Linked DNA regions of Homo sapiens: region 2 is linked to region 1. Evidence: promoter capture Hi-C in 16 types of primary human blood cells and fetal thymus (Javierre and others, 2016). All regions are on one chromosome and are shown on one strand. The core of a region is centred on a gene start or on the middle of the fragment in contact, and the rest is flanking DNA. Distances in the headings are between cores, read along the strand shown.

Region 1 (3,470 bases), core at 310-2,809:
TCCATTTATATGACATCCTGAAAAAGGCTTAACTGTAGTGATGAACAGATAAGTGGTTGCCAGAAGTTATGGGTGAGGGTAGGGGTGGCTACAAAAGGGTAACGTGAAGGAGTGGTTTTTGGGTGACAGAAACATTCTGTATCTTAACTGCGTTTGTAGTTACACAAATCTGTTATAAAATTAATAAACTAGGCCAGATGCGGTAGCTCACACCTGTAATCCCAGCACTTTGGGAGGCCAAGGTGGGTCGATCACTTGAGGTCAGGAGTTCGAGACTAGCCTGGCCAACATGGTGAAACCCCATCTCTACTAAAATACAAAAATTAGCTAGGCGTGGTGATGCACGCCTGTAATCCCAGCTACTTGGGAGGCTGAGGCAGGAGAATCGCCTGAACCTGGGAGGTAAAGTTTGCAGTGAGCTGAGATCGCATCACTGCACTCCAGCCTGGGCCACAGAGGGAGACTCCCTCTCAAAAAAAAAAAATTTAATATACTGTACACCAAAAGGAAGTCAGTTTTGCTGTATATTGATTAAAAAATGCTACAACCAAAAAGGCAAATCAACAAAGCTTTATGAGTGTATAGGCACCTATGAATGTTGGGTTTTGAATGGAAAAAAAAAGTGACAGGAAATATACAATGTTTAATGCTGGTTACTTTGGAGGGGGCAAAAATGATTCAGTTTTTCAGTGTACGTTTTTGTATTGTTTTAATTATTTCAATTAGTATATAGTGATTTTGAAATTTGAGAAACATCTACTGAAAATGGAAAATATCTGGAAAAATATTTAAAAAGAGGAAAAAGAGTATTTCTGCTTTATTGGGTACCTGTTGACAGGGTAGTAAACAAGACAAATCCATCTCCATTCTTTTTTTTCTTTTGAGATGGAGTCTCGCCCTGTCACCCAGGCTGGAGTGCTGTGGTGTGATCTTGGCTCACTGCAACCTCTGCCTCCTGGGTTCAAGCGATTTTCGTGCCTCAGCCTCCCAAGTAGCTGAGACTACAGGTGCCCGCCACCACGCCCGGCTATTTATCTCCATTCTTATGGAGCACAGCGTGGTGGAGTTCAGTCCACACGCTTACAGGTGGCTTATCTGCAAAATGTGTCTAAAAAGAAATTTTATAGGATAAATATTTTGTACATGTTTGAAACAGTGCTTGGCACAAATGAATAAATGTAATGCAAGCTGCTATTAATACATCATCTCCGAATTGGGAGAATCATTGCGATCACATCGTTGTGATTACACAAAAGCCTCTGTCATGTAATAGGGCTCAGTAAACGTCAATTTCCATAGCATTTCGAGCCTGGATACTGAAATATGGGGCAAAAAGCAGGAACATGCCCCTGGTTTGGCTCTTGCCTTCTTGCATTTCCTGGGTTTCCTCATTTATCTTTTTTTTTTTTTTTTTTGGCCTTGTTATCTTTCTACCTTCAGGGAAGCCTCTCCCTTCTTCTCCTCCCTAGAATGACCTATCACCCTCCTTCAGGACCTAGATGCAGGGCGTTTCTATCTTAGGCTGACACTTGACTCCTTGCCTACATCTATAGCTTGGCACAGAGAGATTCACGCACCCTCAAGAGTGTGGGTGAGACATATACAGCCTGTTAGACCTGAAGGTGAGCCCAACCTGGGAAAATCGTGACCTCAGAGCAGGGCAGGATGTGAAAGGTTTTGGAAAGGAGATAGCCCTGCAGGGCAGGAGGGATTTTTAAGGGGAGGAAGTGGGTTGGGGGAAATACCCAGTGAGGAGGGAAACAGATATGTAAATTCTACCCTTTTCTCTACCCAGGCAGATGGCTCTTCTTAAGGCCAATAAGGATCTCATTTCCGCAGGATTGAAGGAGTTCAGCGTTCTGCTGAATCAGCAGGTGAGTCCAAGCTTTCCATTTCAAAGGACTGGCCTGGAGACTGGGGGGTGCCGGGGAAGTGGAGGAAGAGGATAATTGGAGCTGGTGAAGTAATGGTGGAGTTGATGGAAACAACGAGAGACACGGGATACAATGCAGAGGAAAGAGAATGTGAGAGTTGGTGCTGTGGCACTATTCTAGTATTCCCGAATCCCATTGCTGACCACATTCTCCCTTGCCAACTGCCTCTCCGCAACCCCCCAGGTCTTCAATGATCCTCTCGTCTCTGAAGAAGACATGGTGACTGTGGTGGAGGACTGGATGAACTTCTACATCAACTATTACAGGCAGCAGGTGACAGGGGAGCCCCAAGAGCGAGACAAGGCTCTGCAGGAGCTTCGGCAAGAGCTGAACACTCTGGCCAACCCTTTCCTGGCCAAGTACAGGGACTTCCTGAAGTCTCATGAGCTCCCGAGTCACCCACCGCCCTCCTCCTAGCTCAGGGACCCAGCCCCTCCTCTCTGAGAAACTCTGACCTTCATGTCCTTAGGCTGTGCTCCTGCCACTCTACCCTGACACCTCAATAAAGACCAGTGCTGGTTTTGTTGGACTTCCTGGCTTCTCTTTCATGGTCTGTCCTGACATGTGGAGGCACTCGGTCCCTTTCCTTCCGCCCTCCTTCTTAGATATGCTCTTGGAAGCTTAATTCCTTACAGCAGAGGTTAGCAGCCTTGAGTGACCACCGGGCAGCGATTCTAAACTAAAACAGGCTGAACGAGGGCCAGGAAGGCGGGACTAGAGAGAGTGCAGAGCTGCAGGGGAGGGGGTGGCAGAAACAAGAAAGGGGGATAGAAGTCCTCCAGACATTGTCCTGTGACCTGCTTGTCGAGGAGGAAACTGTTGGAAGTCTCCCAGTCTTGTTCATCCTGCGCCAGGTCCACCGCCTCGACTTTTCAATCCCCTGTCCTTAGCCCCAGCTCAAACTACATTCTAGGATCTTCGGACTCTGACTACCGCAAAATACCTCCCCGGAGCCCCAGGCATCGCAGGAATTTAGAGTTGGAAGGGATCCTGGGAACCCTTTAGCGCGCCCCTTATATTTCAGGAGGGGAAGCCACTTCCCTTTGGCTCCAACATCCCTGGGCGCAGATGCCAGGATTGGGAAGCAGAGGAATCCGCCTTCCCCCCACCCCAAGCTTCTCAGATCAATTCCCGGTCTAGCTCCCTTTCTCCCAGACCTCCAGACTCGAAGCCTCTATTTTAGGGCTCTGGGCGGAACCAGGGACGGGCCAGACTCAAGAGCTTTTTAAAAACGAAATGAAGGTGTTAGACCCGCGGCGCAGTCTCCAGGAAAAGCCTCCACGCGCAGAGGGGAGGGCCCTCCGGGGGAGGGTGCGCGGGGCGGGGGCGCGCGGGGGGAGGGGGTTCCCGGGGTGCTGAGCGGGGGCGGGGGTGCGCGGGGCGGGGGCGCGGCTAGGAGGCGCCGCACAGCAATCAGACGCGGCTCAGGGTGCGCGCGGGGAGCTGGAGGGCGCAGTTCTGGACCTTTTCGGTGTTCTCTCTAACGCGGGAAAAGTTTGGGGCCCAGAGGGATTGCTCCTCGTTCCAACCTCCAGC
Region 2 (3,470 bases), core at 492-2,991, 560 kb before region 1:
CAACATGGCACAACCCTGTCTCTACTAAAAATACAAAACAGCCAGGCATGGTGGTGTTCACCTGTAATCCCAGCTACTTGGGAGGCAGAGGCACGAGAATCACTTGAACCCAGGAGGTGGAGGTTACAGTGAGCCAAGATTATGCCACTGCACTTCAGCCTGGGTGATAGCACGAGACTGTGTCTCAAAAAAAAAAAAAATACATATATATATATATATGTACACACACATATGTATATACACACAAATATATACACACACACATATATATATACACACACATATGCGTATCTGTATATATTAAGGCCAGGCAGGGTGGAGCTCACCTGTAATCCCAGCACTTTGGGAGGCCGAGGCGGGTGGATCACAAGGTCAAGAGATCGAGACCATCCTGGCCAACATGGTGAAACCCCGTCTCTACTAACAATAGAAAAATTAGCCAGGCGTGGTGGCGGGTGCCTATAGTCCCAGCTACTTGGGAGACTGAGGCAGGAGAATTGCTTGAACCCGGGAGGCAGAGGCTGCTGTGAGCTGAGATTGTGCCACTGCACTCCAGCCTGGCGACAAAGCGAGACTCCGTCTCAAAAAAAAAAATATATATATATATGCCAGGCACGATGGCTCACGCCTATAATCCCAGCACTCCAGGAGGCTGAGGCAGGAGGATCACTTGAACCCAGGAGTTCAATACCAGCCTGAGCAACATAGGTAGACCCTGTCTCTACAAAAATTTTTAAAAATTAGCTGGGTATGATTGCATGCCCCTGTATAGTCCCAGTTACTCAGGAGACCGAGGCAGGAGGATCGCTTGAGCCCAGCAGGTTGAGGCTGCAGTGAGCTGTGGTCATGCCACTGCACCCCAGCCTGAGTGACAGAGCAAGACCCCGTCCCAAAAACAAAAACAAATACAAAACTATGAAACATGAGGTAACTGAGGTGTTTGAGTTCCTCTGGTGAGCTTCCAAATTCTCATCTGTGAAATGAAGACCATCAGGAAGATTGGTAATAGTATATGTAAAGCCCCTTGCACAGGGCAAGTATCTTGTGGTTGATGGTAAATTTCCCCAACTACCACTCTGCTGGCCTAGACCCTGAACAAGAGAAGGAGGCTGGAGAGCCAGGACGTCCGGGGACCAAGCCCCCGAAGCGGGACGAAGAGCGAGGCAAGACCCAGGGCAAGCACCGCAAGTCCTTTGCTCTGGACAGCGAAGGGGAGGAGGCATCCCAGGAGTCCTCCTCGGAGAAGGTGAGGGCCCGGGCGCCGGCTCCTGGCCGAAGCCTACTTCCCATAGCCAGCATCTTTGTGGTTGGAGCCCAGGCAGCTGTGCCTGGTGTAGGACCAGTTGTCCCCTTCCTGTTAGTCCTCATTTGTCTTTTTTCTTAAGGATGAGGAGGATGACGAGGAAGATGAGGAAGATGAAGATCGAGAGGAAGCTGTGGATACCACAAAGAAGGAGACAGAGGTGTCGGATGGTGAGCACAAGACAGTGAAATCGACTTTGGGCTCGGAGGAGGGGTTCGGCTGCCTGGCTAGCCCTTTTCTGAGCCCACATGACCTTCCTGCTGGGCTTGTGGGTCACCTTTGCCTTCTGCAAGGGCATCTGTTTGGGCCACATTCTTAGGAACCCTTGGCCCCTTGACAGCAATAAGCTCAGTGCTCAAAATGCTCCCTCCTGCTCCCTCTTCTGCTGAGACATAGCTGTCCAAAAGGACAGCCTGGCAGAACGCTTTTTTTGTTTTGTTTTTTGTTGTTGTTGTTGTTGTTGTTTTGAGAGAGTTTCGCTCTTGTCGCCCAGGCTGGAGTGCAATGGCGCAATCTCGGCTCACTGCAACCTCCGCCTCCTGAGTTCAAGAGATTCTCCTGCCTCAGCCTCCGTTGTAGCTGGGATTACAGGCACCCACCACCACCCCCAGCTAATTTTTTGTATTTTTAGTAGAGACAGGGTTTCACTATGTTGGCCAGACTGGTCTTGAACTCCTGAGCTCAGGCGATCCACCCACCTCAGCCTCTGGAAGTGCTGGGATTACAGGCGTGAGCCACCACACCCAGATTTTTTTTTTTTTTTTTTGAGACAGAGTCTCGCTTTGTCACCCAGGCTGGAGTGCAGTGATGTGATCTTGGCTCACTGCAACCTCCGCCTCCCTGGTTCCAGCGATTTTCCTGCCTCAGCCTCCCAAAGCGCTGGGATTACAGGTGTGAGCCACCACACCTGGCTAATTTTTGTATTTTTAGCAGAGATGGGGTTTTACCATGTTGGCCAGGCTGGTCCCAAACTCATGACCTCAAGTGATCCACCCACCTCGGCCTCCCAAAGTGCTAGGCTTTCACCTGTGAGCCACTGCACGCAGCCTCTTGCAGCAGTCTTGACTGATTTCCCTGTCTCTCTTTCTGTCCTTCTCCCTCTGTTCCAGTCCATTTTCCAAACTGCTTATAGAATCTCTTTCCTAAAATGCACTCCTGACCCTGTGACTTCCCTCCATAAGGTCCTTCCTGGCAACTTGTTCTCCACAGGGTGTCCCCCCAGGCCAACACCATGGGCCGTTTATCTCCTGGCCCTGCTCTGTTCAGCTCCATCTCGCCCTCCTCCAGTCCGCTCCCCAGCTGCCACCACCTTCTAGTCTAACTTATCCAATTCTGTTCCTCAAAAACTGTGAAATTCTTCAGTTTTTTCGAGTCCTTCCCGTACATGAGCAGTCTCAGAATATAGAGCCTGTCGTGTTTTTTAACCTTTTCAGCCCAGAATCCTTTTTCACCCAATCCTTCGTCCAGACTGGGTCCTGAGACCCACTTTAGGAAGGTTTGAGTGCCAGAGCAGCCTGCTTCCCAGTCTCCAAGCCTCCACTTCCTCTTGCTTCCGACATCCCTGTGCAGTCCCCATGTCTGTGTGGTGGACTCCTTGTCCTTGAGTTCAGCTTGTCCCCTGGGATGCTTTCCTTTTCGGGCCTCTTCAGACAGAGTCTGGGGCTTCCTTTGCCATCCTCCCCGCATGCTGATGTTTATCTCACAGTGAAAATGGTTTGCTTATGCAGCTCCTTGGTCTGTTGGACTTCCCCGTCCCTAGCCCAGAGCCCAGCATCCACAGCAGGGAGTGAGTGAGGAGCCCACGGCTGGCCAAGTGAGGTCTGCCCACCTCTCCTGACTGCCCCTTCTGGATTTCCAGGCGAGGACGAGGAAAGCGATTCGTCTTCCAAATGTTCTCTGTATGCTGACTCAGATGGCGAAAATGACAGCACATCAGACTCCGAGAGCAGCAGCTCTTCCAGCTCCTCATCCTCCTCCTCCTCCTCGTCCTCATCCTCCTCGTCCTCTTCATCCTCTGAGTCCTCCTCTGAAGATGAAGAGGAAGAGGAGCGGCCAGCAGCCCTTCCCTCAGCCTCCCCGCCCCCCAGAGAAGTCCCAGTGCCCACGCCAGCACCTGTGGAGGTGCCAGTGCCGGAAAGGGTTGCAGGCTCCCCAGTCACACCCCTGC

What was found. The method cuts DNA at HindIII sites, captures the fragments that hold promoters and counts their contacts. A CHiCAGO score of 5 or more calls a contact.
Region 2: a fragment that was not itself captured here is called in contact with the fragment with the promoter of AHSP in region 1 in 1 of 17 cell types (total CD4 T cells); the score reaches 6.0 in total CD4 T cells.

What each region holds. Positions count from the first base shown.
Region 1 is chr16:31,526,341-31,529,810 of GRCh38, forward strand. It overlaps AHSP (alpha hemoglobin stabilizing protein), which reads left to right and starts at 1,560. Exons shown (of 3, transcript NM_016633.4): 1 at 1,560-1,622; 2 at 1,796-1,874; 3 at 2,118-2,463. The coding sequence starts at 1,800. The coding sequence ends at 2,351. The HindIII fragment of the contact is 1,316 bases long and covers 568-1,883 here.
Region 2 is chr16:30,968,217-30,971,686 of GRCh38, forward strand. SETD1A (SET domain containing 1A, histone lysine methyltransferase) reads left to right here. Exons shown (of 19, transcript NM_014712.3): 11 at 1,089-1,246; 12 at 1,386-1,473; 13 at 3,162-3,470. Among named protein-coding and RNA genes, the nearest start is that of SETD1A, 12 kb to the left of the region's middle. The HindIII fragment of the contact is 6,620 bases long and covers 1-3,470 here.